Regions from separate parts of the Homo sapiens genome. Here regions 1, 2 and 4 are each linked to region 3. The links are contacts of gene promoters, found by promoter capture Hi-C in blood cells and fetal thymus (Javierre and others, 2016). All regions are on one chromosome and are shown on one strand. The core of a region is centred on a gene start or on the middle of the fragment in contact, and the rest is flanking DNA. Distances in the headings are between cores, read along the strand shown. Region 1 overlaps PKD1L1 (polycystin 1 like 1, transient receptor potential channel interacting). Region 2 overlaps TNS3 (tensin 3). Region 3 holds the start of PKD1L1-AS1 (PKD1L1 antisense RNA 1). Region 4 overlaps LINC01447 (long intergenic non-protein coding RNA 1447).

Region 1 (2,700 bases), core at 150-2,649, 150 kb after region 3:
CCATGCCCATTCCCAGCGACAGGGCAATGGGAACCGTTGCCAAGTTCCCAGCTCCATATAGGCTGCTGTGCTAAGGAGAAGGGCAGGCTCTACATCCACTTCTTCTAGACACAGGCAGTCACCTTGCCTCTCTGTGTCAGTCTCCTTCTCTGTTTGAGAGGAACGACACAGACCTACTTCACGGGGCTGCTGCCAGGACTGTCATTCTAGAAAGGGCCGCCCTGTATTAGCTAAATGCTTGGTAACCAGCTGCTAAAGGTGTTCGCCTTTGTTCTTTCCCCTGAAAAATGCATTCAGCTCTTTAGAATTCTCTTTTTTACCTGTCTTGGATGTCTATAAAGTCTAGAGGATATCTACTTTATCTTAAGCAAGGTTTCTACAAAGATAAAACTGGATAGTTTCACCCAATTTTTACAAGCCTGGTTCTTGATGCCCAAGAAGCCGCCACCAGAGGGCAGACGAGGACAATATTTATAGTTGAGGAAAGTGTGCAGGGAGGTGAAAAGCTGTTATTTTGAAGATGAAGATGGTCACTAGGTCAAAGGCCTCAAACTGTTGAATAATTCCAAGGATTTCCTTGCCTACTCTCAACTATGCTTGTCTTCCAAAGGCCAGAGAAATGAAAAAATAAAAAATAACAATAATAGAAAAGGGGACAACTTTGGAATCATACAGACCAGACCAGATCAGACTTAGAGGATTTCTGCAATGATCTAGCGGGCAAATAAAATTAAGGAAAGGACGAACCTAACCTCTGTCCACCACGTGCGCCCCACAGTCCACAGCTGTGAGACTGCCCACCACTCTGGGCCCACACAAGGTTAGATAGCCCTGGCACCCACCAAGTTCCGAGACCCTCCCAGACACCCCCACAACAGGATAACTTCCAAGTGCTACACACAGAAAACACCAGCCCTGGTTCCTGGGACATAGTTGGCCCTTGAGAAGTAATTTTCTGTCTCAGAAGGTGAGAAACACATCCCCAACAGGTGTGTCCTCCACTCACAGAGGCGCCAAGGATAGTGCTGCAAAGCTAATTTTCCTTGAGATTTCAGAGGTCTTTTCAAATAAAAAAAATGGAAGGGGGAGATAATTTAAATACAAGGGAGGCTCTTTTTCCTGGTGTTGTGAGGAGGCAGGTCCCCAGGCCCTGGCACAGAATCAGCACCATTTTCACAGAGGTACCTGGCTTCCTCTTAGTTAACTGTGACTGTCGGGGAACAGGATGATACTGATGGCTCAAACACAGTCTCTGAGGCATCATGTGCCTCAAGGGAACTAGTCGAGCCATTTGTTTGAATTACATGACAGATCTCTTAGAATCCCTTAAGAGTGAGTGTTTTTCGGGGCCTGTCAGGGGCTGGGGGGCAAGGGGAGGGAGAGCATTAGGACAAATACCTACCACACAAACACACACCACACACTCACACCACACCACACTCACACCACACAAACACACCACACAGCATCACACACAATATACACACACCACACAGCACATACCCACCCACCACACACACATCGCACACACCACACACCACGCACCACACAAACACACCATACACACAAACACCACACACACACCAACACATTACACACACATCACACAGCACACACCATGTATCACACACACACCATACCCCACTCATACCATACCACACATACACCACACACTACACACAGACCACACACCACACCACCCACACACATGTCCTATACCACACACACACACACAGACACTACAGGCCTAACTCCATGAAATGAGGGCTACAGGAGAGTCAAGAAACCTCTTCTGTTTCTATGAACAAGATCAGTCACTGTCTTGCTTTAGGTGACTCAGGAAACCCCAAAAGGCTATGACTTCAGAAATGGGGCCTCGACACCAATTACAATGGCTAGTGCGTGCATGAACTAGTTGGTCTGCAAGTACAAGATGTATAAATATACAGGGGAAAAAACATCAAGTCAGCGACTTCCGCTCCTCAGCTTTTCTTTCCTTTCTAAGGGCAAAGGGGTAATTCCTTGCAATTCCCTGACTGATAAGAGTGAAGGTCAAATTGGGCCAACATCAAGGCTCTGGGAGTCTGCAGGAGCATGGGCATTTGGAATAAAAGAAACATGAGGTAACCAGAAAAAATAAGGGAAAAAATTGTAGCCAAAATCAGACAATGCTTGGCAGCAGTGAGTGACATAAGGCAAAGAAATTTCCAAGCATGAATGTGACCAACCCCGTCAACACGTGCAGCCTCATTTTCTCATCCTGGTTTGCTTTGGGTTTCTTTGATAAAATGATGGTGATGGCACAAAGACAGTAAGCTAACAAAGGCAGAAATGCTGACAGCAAGCATTCATCAAGGATACTGATTTTTATAACGACCCTCTGGAGTTTACAGATGTGACAACAGGGGTACTCAGATTTTCAGGATGAGAAATCTGGGGGTGAGGAGGTAAAGTGACCTGCAGTGGCGGGGTACCCCACTGGGCAAGATCTGCAGGCACAGGCTCCCATCATGCCAGGCCAGGGGACAGCGGTGACCCACCTGGGTCCTTACCACATCCCACAGGCAGGTCACCTTGCTGGCCTCACGCCCAGGAAAGGGGGCATGGAGGTTTGCACCATGTCACACTGCCATGAGACAGTCAACAGCAGAGCACACAGGCTGCCCAGCCTCAACAACACATGGGTGCTGGCGCGCACAG
Region 2 (2,700 bases), core at 44-2,543, 240 kb before region 3:
GGTTCAGAGGGATCCCCCTGCCTAGAACACAGCTAAGGATTTGCTGAATGAATGAATGATACTCCTGATGGGCCCTGGCACACAGACCACCTACTGGCCCATTCCAGGTTTTTCATGCTCTGACCAGAACACTGCAGTATCAACTCTACCCACGTCCCCGCCCTCCCACCCCATCCCCACAACCTAGTTACTTCGTTTGGCTCTTGACAGGGGTGCCAGACCCATGCCTTGGTCTCCTCTCCCCTCTTCCATCCCTCCCACCCATCCCCACTCAGCTAAACATTGGTCCCCAAATGCAACACTGAGGTCTCCCCTGCGAGGCCTTCTCAGGGTGGATCGGGCAAGGTCTTCTGGCCCCAGGCCTCAGGGCCCCACAAAAGTTCTTACATCACAGGGAAGCCCTGCACCCTCACCCTGCCCTTCACCTATCCAAGGCCCAGACGCGAGAAGGGGTCCATGCCTGTTTGCTGAATTAATGAAGGAAGGAAGAAGGGAAATGGGAATAGAAACACGGCCCCATGGTTCCATGGCCAGCAATGTCCACAGGAAGCCTTGATGTATGGAGAGGGCTTGGTGAACTGCACAGCCCTTTGCAAAAGATAAACGCGTAGAACAAATGGGTGAGCAGCCAGACCACAGGATCCGTCCTGTAAGGCGGTAACCTTGGCTTGCTGTCCCTCTGACCTTCACCTTCCCAACCTCATGTAAGCAAGATGCTGTCCCTAGTTGTCCCACAGCAAGACAGCTAGGACCAGGAGATAGAAGCACAAAGACACATTTGCAGCAGGGTCTCAATGGGCAAGGCACATGAGAACAAAATCTCTATGTTCTCATTTCAAACACATATCACAATGGTCAATTCTCCTTCAAGGAATGTGTTCTAAGGCAATGACCATGCCTGGAAAGATCTACGTGGAAGGGCAGGGTACAGAATTATGCACAACAAAAAAGGCTGGAAGCAGTTTTAATAGCCAGCAACTGGGCTCTGGTCATTTTATGGTACTAACATAGAATGGGATTCGAATACTATGAAGTCACTAAAAATAATAATCACATCCATATTCACTTATATGGAAAACGCCCATGGGATATTAACAAAGTTACAAAACAAAACAGACCTAAGTTTTGGTCATTCCTAAACAGTCTTACCCCACTCCTGAGGAGTCATGCCACCCCAAAGAGACAGAATTTTGCTGTGGAGTGACTGAGCACATCTCCCAAGTCTGCACCCAGCCAAGGAACATGAGCTCACTCAGAAAAAGGGCAAGGAGGGGCTCAGCCTCTTGGGAGCCTGGGTGAATAGCATTCACCAGACCTGTGGGAAGCGCCAGGAAGATCTTCCTAAAACACCCGGTTCCTTCAGGAAGCATCTCCTCGGAGTGCCCCTGCTTCTTTCTCAAATGGGCAAGGTGGGCTCCCTGCTGCACAGAGGGCAGACAAGCTCTAGCACCTGAGCTCCCGGGCAGAAGGCTGGCCTGGTGTCCACTTCCTGCCGCTGGACTCGGGAACTGAGCAAAAGCAGGTGGCTAGACCCTGGGCACGTCCTGAAGGTGGAGGCCCAGTGGGGCACAGCCATGGACTGGATGGTTCTGTCTCACTCCAGGTGTTTCCTTAAGCAAATGGGGAGACCACGGAGGAGGTGGGTGAGGGCACAAAACGTCATGTGGCTGGAGCCCTGGGTGTGGCCACCTCAGGCCAAAGGGAAGGAGCTAGAGTTCCAGCATAGCCACCAGGAGCAGGGGAGCCTTTGGCTGGGTCAGGGTTCAAAACTACAGGCAAGGAGACCCCCAGTGGAATAATTCATGCCTTGGGGAGCACTTTGAAAAGTCATTGGACAGTCTACAATGAGAACTACGAAAACATTCGCACTGCAGACCCTGCTCTTTCCACACCTGTGAATCTCAACTCAGTAAGTGTCCACAGACAGGAGAGAAACAACACCCCACACAGGCAAAGTTAAGTCAGCAGACCAAGGTTCACACTGTGCACATGTGTGTTAGATAAGTAGAGAGTAAGAAGTGTGCAAATTCATGGAATGGAAGTATGGCTGTTATCACCCTAAATTCTTGCACTTGCAGAGACTGAAATAACAGGGAATGACGTCTGCTAAGGCACAGCTGGAGCGGGGCAGGGGTGGGGTGGAGAGGGAGGCTACAAAACCGTGTGTCCACCGGGAGCGATCCTTGGCCTCTCTGCAAATGCACTTCTTGTGTTGGAGTGCTTTTACAAGGAAAATGGAAACATTTAAACAGACATTGAAAAGGGGCGGCATTCTTACCCACCATATTTATCTGCATAAACCTCCCCACGCCCATCACATTCTTCTGGCACACCTAATTCATTTCTTTTTTTTTCATTATTTTTCTCCTGAGGCTATTTTGGCTGCAAGATAGATTCTAACAGAATAACAGGGATTTAACAAATAAAAGGAATGCTTAGGGATGCGTTAACAGTAATCTTGCCAAGCCAGGAAGCCGTCTAGAGCTTGGCACATGAGTGAAGGCGAGAAACAATTTGCCTGGAGAAACAAGAAGAAAAATAACAACAAAAAATCACTCTCTGCCTCCGTTGCAGAAATCAACAAGACACACACAGGCAGACAGACCTCGTTTTATTGTGCTTTGCTTTATTGAACTTTGCAGATACTCAGTTTTTTTTAACAAACTAAAGGTTTGTGGCAACCCCACGTCAGTGCCATTT
Region 3 (2,833 bases), core at 270-2,769:
GAACCTCCTAGAGACTTGTGGAATGACTCTGACAAAAATGCTGATAGTGATATGAAAAATAAAGTCCAGGCTGAGGTGGTCTCAGATGGAGATAAGGAACTTGTTGGGAACTGGAGCAAAGGTGACTCCTGTTATGTTTTAGCAAGAGACTGGCAGCATTTTGCCCCACCCTAGAGATTTGTGGAACTTAGAACTTGAGAGAGATGATTTTTAGGGTATCTGGCAGAAGAAATTTCTAAGCAGCAAAGCATTCAAAAGGTGACTTGGGTGCTGTTAAAAGCATTCCGTTTTAAATGGGAAATGGAACATAAAAGTTAAAGAAATTTGCAGCCTGACAATGCAGTGGAAAAGAAAAACTCATTTTCTGGGGAGAAGTTCAAGCCAGCTGCAGAAATTTGCATAAGTAGCAAGCAGCCTAATGTTAATCCCCAAGGCCATGGGGAAAATGTCGCCAAGTCATGTCAGAGACCTTCACAGCAGCCTCTCCCATCATAGGCCTGGATGCCAAGGAGGAATAAGTGGTTTAGTGGACTGGGCCCAGGTTCCCCGTGCTGTGTGCAGCCTAGAGACTTGGTGCCCTGTGTCCCAGTTGCTCCAGCCATGGCCGAAAGGGGCCATTGTACAACTTGGGCTGGGGCTTCAGAGAGTGGAACCCCCAAGCCTTGGCAGCTTCCATGTGGTATTGAGCCTATGGGTGCACAGAAGTCAAGAATTGAGGTTTAGGAACCTCAGCCTAGATTTCAGAAGATGTATGGAAATGCCTGGATACCCAGGCAAAAGTTTTCTGCAGGGGCGGGGCCCTTATGGAGAACTGCTAGGGCAGTGTGGAAGGGACCTAGTGGAGCTGTGAGAAGAGGGCCACCATCCTCCAGACTCCAGAATGGTGGATCCTCTGACAACTTGCACTGTGCACCTGGAAAAGCCACAGACACTCAATGCCAGCCCATGAAAGCAGCCAGGAAGGAGGCTGTACCCTGCAAAGCTACAGGGGCAGAGCTGCCCAAGACCATGGGAACCCACCTCTGGCATCAGCATCACCTACATGTGAGCCCTGGAATCAAAGGAGATCATTTTGGAGCTTTAAAATTTGATTGACCTGTTGGATTTTGGACTGGTATGGGGCCTGTAACCCCTTGGTTTTGGCCAATTTCTCCCATTTGGAACAGTTGTATTTACCCAATCCCTGTACCCCCATTGTATCTAGGAAGTAACTAACTTATTTTTTATTTTACAGGCTCATAGGTGGAAGGGACTTGCCTTGTCTCAGATGACACTTTGGACTGTGGACTTTTGGGTTAATGCTAAAATGAGTTAAGACTTTGGGGGACTTTTGGGAAGGCATAATTGGTTTTGAAATGTGAGGACATGAGATTTGGAGGGGGCCAGGAGCAGAATGATATTGTTTGGCTGTGTCCCTATTCAAATCTCAACTAGAATTATATCTCCCAGAATTCCCACATGTTGTGGGAGGGACCTAGTGGGAGGTAATTGAATCATAGGGGCTGGTCTTTCTCATGCTATTCTTGTGATAGTGAAGAAGTCTCACAAGATCTGATCATTTATAATGGGTTTCCACTTTTGCATCTGGATCATTTTTCTCTTGCCACCACCATGTAAGAAGTGCCTTTCACCTCCCACCATGAACCTGAGGCCTCCCAAGTCATGTGGAAATGTAAGTCCAATTAAACTTCTTTTTGTTCCCAGTTTTGGGTATGTCTTTATCAGCAGTATGAAAACAAACTAATATATCAGCCATGAAGAAAGTGAGTATTCAGTGTGCAAACGCCTGGTTTGATTTGTTTACATGCATGTCTGGGGTGACTGAACTCAAGTAATGCACCTAAGGCTCTATGTTTTGGATAGAAGTTTGGGTTTGATAGCAGGCACCAAAAGCAAATGACTAACTCAGGGGACAGAATACAGCATGTCTGTGTCCTGGGGAAGACCATAAACTCTGTCTTTCCAACTGTACAGGTCACTATAAGGATATAGTGAGTTAAGGCAGGAGAATGTGCTTGGTAATCTGTAAAGTGTTTTAGAATTGCACGGGAAAATTCCATGAGTTCCACTATGATTGAGACTAATTTTGTGGCTTTGCAAGGAGATTTGGCATGGAAACATACTCATGCTTTGATAACTGAAAGCAAAATTCTGCAATGAAACCATCATCTTGAGTGTGTGCTATCATGCTCAGTAATCCAAGATCTCACAGCTTACGTGATTCTCAACCATCTCAGCCTCTTCCAACTTTGGTGTTTCCAGTCTCAGAAAGGTGAGGACCTTTTCCCACATATAAGCAGTGACATCTTTAAGTCTCACAAAAGATTTACTTTGAAAAGATTTTCTTTTTTGGGGTAAAGTCATGAGAAAACCTCTCAGCTAGGAAAAAGAAAAAAATAAAGACAAATTTCATGTTAGCAGCCTAAATAAAGAGCTTTGTTAACGTGATAAACTATGCAATGGAGATTATATCTGATGATGCTACTTTACGAGCTTTTGGTAAAATAGTGATTTCTTGGTGAAAAAAAGCAAAATCAGGAAAATACCTCTCCTGAATTGAACTAAATGGCAGTAAGATGATCTCAGCAATGGAAATTCATTGTATTATAAAGGTTGTTTTCAGTATCTAACTTTGGAGACTGAGATTATCAACGCGATGTGCATGCCCATATGTAAAGTCTGTGTCTCAGTTTCAGTGTCCCCTGGTGAACCATTCTGAGCTGTGGGTGAGCCTCAGGAGAGAGGCCTGTGCCTGTGCCTGGGAGACCAGAAAGGGTCTTGGGCTCAGCAAGTTGTTGTGCCCTCAACATGTGCTCTATAAGCCTCCAGGTGG
Region 4 (2,700 bases), core at 105-2,604, 160 kb before region 3:
ATAGCACACACGATTATGTACAGCCCATAATACGTGATAGTGATAATAAATGACTGTTACTGGTTTATGTATTATATGTTTTTTGTTTGTTTGTTTGTTTTTTGACACAAGGTTTGGCTCTGTCACCCTGGCTGGAGTGCAGTGGTGTAATCTCAGCTCACTGCAACCTCTGCCTCCCAGGCTTAAGCCATCCTCCCACCTCAGCCTCCTGAGTAGCTGGAATTACAGGCGGGTGCCATGGCTAACTTTCGTATTTTTTGTGGCGACGGGGTTTTGCCATGTTGCACAGGCTGGTCTTGAACTCATGAGCTTAAGTGATCCACCTGCCTCAGCCTTCCAAAGTGCTGGGATTATAGATGTGAGCCACTGCGGCCGGCATATATATATATATGTGTGTGTGTGTGTGTGTGTGTATACGTTTGTGTGTGTGTATATATATATATTTTTTTCTTTTTTTGAGATGGATTTTTTTTTTTTTTTTTGCTCTTGTTGCCCAGGATGGAGTGCAATGGCATGATCTCGGCTCACTGCAACCTCCCCTTCCCGGGTTCAAGTGATTCTCCTGCCTCAGCCTCTCTAGTAGCTGAGATTATAGGCGTGCGCCACCACACCCAATTAATTTTTTATTTTTAGTGGAGATGGGGGTTTATCCATGTTGGTCAGGCTGGTCTCGAACTCCCCACCTCAGGAGATCCACCCCCTCGGCCTCCCAAAGTGCTGGGATTACAGGAGTGAGCCACCAGGCCCCGGCCTATTATACTTTTTATTGTTATTTTAGAGTTTACTTTTGCTTATAAAAAAGAAGTTAACTGTAAAACAGCCCCAGGCAGGCCCTTCAGGAAGCATCCAGAAGAAGGCATTGTTATCACAGGTGAGAGCTCCATGCATGTTATTGGCCCTAAAGACCTCCTGATGGGATGAGATGTGGAGGTGGAAGACAGTGATATTGATGGTTCTCACCTTGTGTATGCCTAGGCTAGTGTGTCTGTGTGTTAATTTTTAACAAAAAATGTGAAAATTTAAAAATAAGACTTTAAAAATAGAAAAAAGCTTATTTAATAAGGATATTAAAAAGAGAAAATATTTTTGTACAGCTATAAATTGTGTTTGCATTTTAAGCCAGATGTTATTTTAAAAAGTCAAAAAGCTAAAAAATGTAAAAGTTTATAAAGTAAAAAAGTTACAGGAAGCTAAGTTTAATTTATAATTGAAGAAAGAAAATTTAAAAATAAATTTAGGCCAGGTACAGTGGCTCACGCCTGTAATCCCAGCACTTTGGGAGGCTGAAGCGGGTGGATCGTCAGAGGTCAGGAGTTCAAGACCAGCCTGGCCAATATGGCAAAAATCCATCTCTACTAAAAATACAAAAAGTAGCCCAGTGTGGTGGCACACACCTGTAATCCCAGCTACTTGGGAGGCTGAGGTGGGAGAATTGCTTGAGCCAGGGAGGTGGAGGTTGCAGTGAGCCGAGATTGCGCCACTGCACTCCAGCCTGAGTAACAGAGCGAGACTCCATCTCAAAATAAATAAATAAAATTAAATGTATTGTAGACTAAGTGCAGTGTTTATAGAGTTTACAAAGGTGTACAGTAATGTCTTAGACCTTCACATTCACTCACCACTCACTCACTGCCTCACCCAGAGCAGCCTTCAGTCCTACAAGCTTCATTCCTGACAATGCCCTATCCAGGTGGACCATTTTTTTTTTATCTTTTGTATACTGTAACTTTACTGTACTTTTTCTATGCTTAGATAGGTCCAGATACACAAATACTTACACTATGTTACAATTGCCTATAGTATACAGTACCAGAACACGTTGGACAGGCTTGTAGCCTAGGAGCAATCTGCTGTCCGGTGTAGCCTAGGTGAGTAGGAGGCTCCACCACCTCGGTTTGTGTAAGTGCACTCCATGACCGCACAATGACAAAATCTCAGAACGTATCCCCGCCATGAAGTGGTGCATCACTGCACACATAGGCCACATATGCACCCGGGCTGGACTTTCAGTAAGCACCTGCCCCCTTGTGCTAGTGTCTGAGGAGACTCAGCATGCTGAAATGTCCCGCAGTGAAGGGGAAATGTGGAATGAGGGACACCGGCATGTGCGATGGGCAAGAACCAGCTTGGAGCTGGTTCGGCCACCAGGCACTGGCTCGGGGCAGCTGAGCAGGCCCTTAACTAGCTCGCCTTCCTGCAGGCATCTTTTGCACACCTGCTGTGTGCCGGGTGCTGGTTGAAGATGCAACCTCTGACCTTTAGGGATTGCAAGCTTGAGCTCGGTGGGGACACAGATGATAGATAAATAACACAGTGTGATAACCATCTGGTCAGGGATGGAACCTGATGAGGAAGAAGTGACTGGAATCCTCCTGGGCTGGAAGGTGGGGGAGCTTTTATGTCTGCAGTCTCTTTGGGTAGGGAAGAAAATGAAGCAGGGGAGGCCTTCCTGTAAGGGGAGTCAGTCCAGGGTGTCAGGGGGTGGGTGGGAGAGGAACCTGGGAAGGCTGCAGGGCTGCACACTGTGCGTGGGGCAGTGGAGGCTCAGAATTTGGCACCCTGGGTGATGTCCAGCCATCAGAGTGTTTGAGGTGGGGGCAGTGCTTCAATCAGATGAATATTTTAGGAAGAACAGGCTGAAGGCAGCCATGTGGGGCTGGGGCAGGATGGGGGCCTGGGAGGGGACATAAGGTTGGGGCT

What was found. The method cuts DNA at HindIII sites, captures the fragments that hold promoters and counts their contacts. A CHiCAGO score of 5 or more calls a contact.
Region 1: a fragment that was not itself captured here is called in contact with the fragment with the promoter of PKD1L1-AS1 in region 3 in 1 of 17 cell types (M2 macrophages); the score reaches 5.3 in M2 macrophages.
Region 2: a contact is called between a fragment that was not itself captured here and the fragment with the promoter of PKD1L1-AS1 in region 3, in 4 of 17 cell types (total B cells, naive B cells, M2 macrophages and 1 more). The highest score is 10.2, in total B cells.
Region 4: a fragment that was not itself captured here is called in contact with the fragment with the promoter of PKD1L1-AS1 in region 3 in 3 of 17 cell types (total B cells, M1 macrophages and naive B cells); the score reaches 11.9 in total B cells.

Annotation. Positions count from the first base shown.
Region 1 is chr7:47,944,949-47,947,648 of GRCh38, forward strand. All of the region lies in intron 1 of PKD1L1 (polycystin 1 like 1, transient receptor potential channel interacting), which reads right to left. Among named protein-coding and RNA genes, the nearest start is that of PKD1L1, 2.2 kb to the right of the region's middle. The HindIII fragment of the contact is 4,025 bases long and covers 1-2,700 here.
Region 2 is chr7:47,549,768-47,552,467 of GRCh38, forward strand. All of the region lies in intron 1 of TNS3 (tensin 3), which reads right to left. Among named protein-coding and RNA genes, the nearest start is that of TNS3, 31 kb to the right of the region's middle. The HindIII fragment of the contact is 4,599 bases long and covers 1-2,700 here.
Region 3 is chr7:47,793,772-47,796,604 of GRCh38, forward strand. PKD1L1-AS1 (PKD1L1 antisense RNA 1) reads left to right here and starts at 1,520. Exons shown (of 4, transcript NR_161269.1): 1 at 1,520-1,672. PKD1L1 (polycystin 1 like 1, transient receptor potential channel interacting) reads right to left here. Exons shown (of 57, transcript NM_138295.5): 55 at 2,218-2,379. The HindIII fragment of the contact is 8,231 bases long and covers 1-2,833 here.
Region 4 is chr7:47,629,824-47,632,523 of GRCh38, forward strand. It overlaps LINC01447 (long intergenic non-protein coding RNA 1447), which reads left to right. Exons shown (of 4, transcript NR_108090.1): 4 at 1-70. Among named protein-coding and RNA genes, the nearest start is that of LINC01447, 9.2 kb to the left of the region's middle. The HindIII fragment of the contact is 613 bases long and covers 1,049-1,661 here.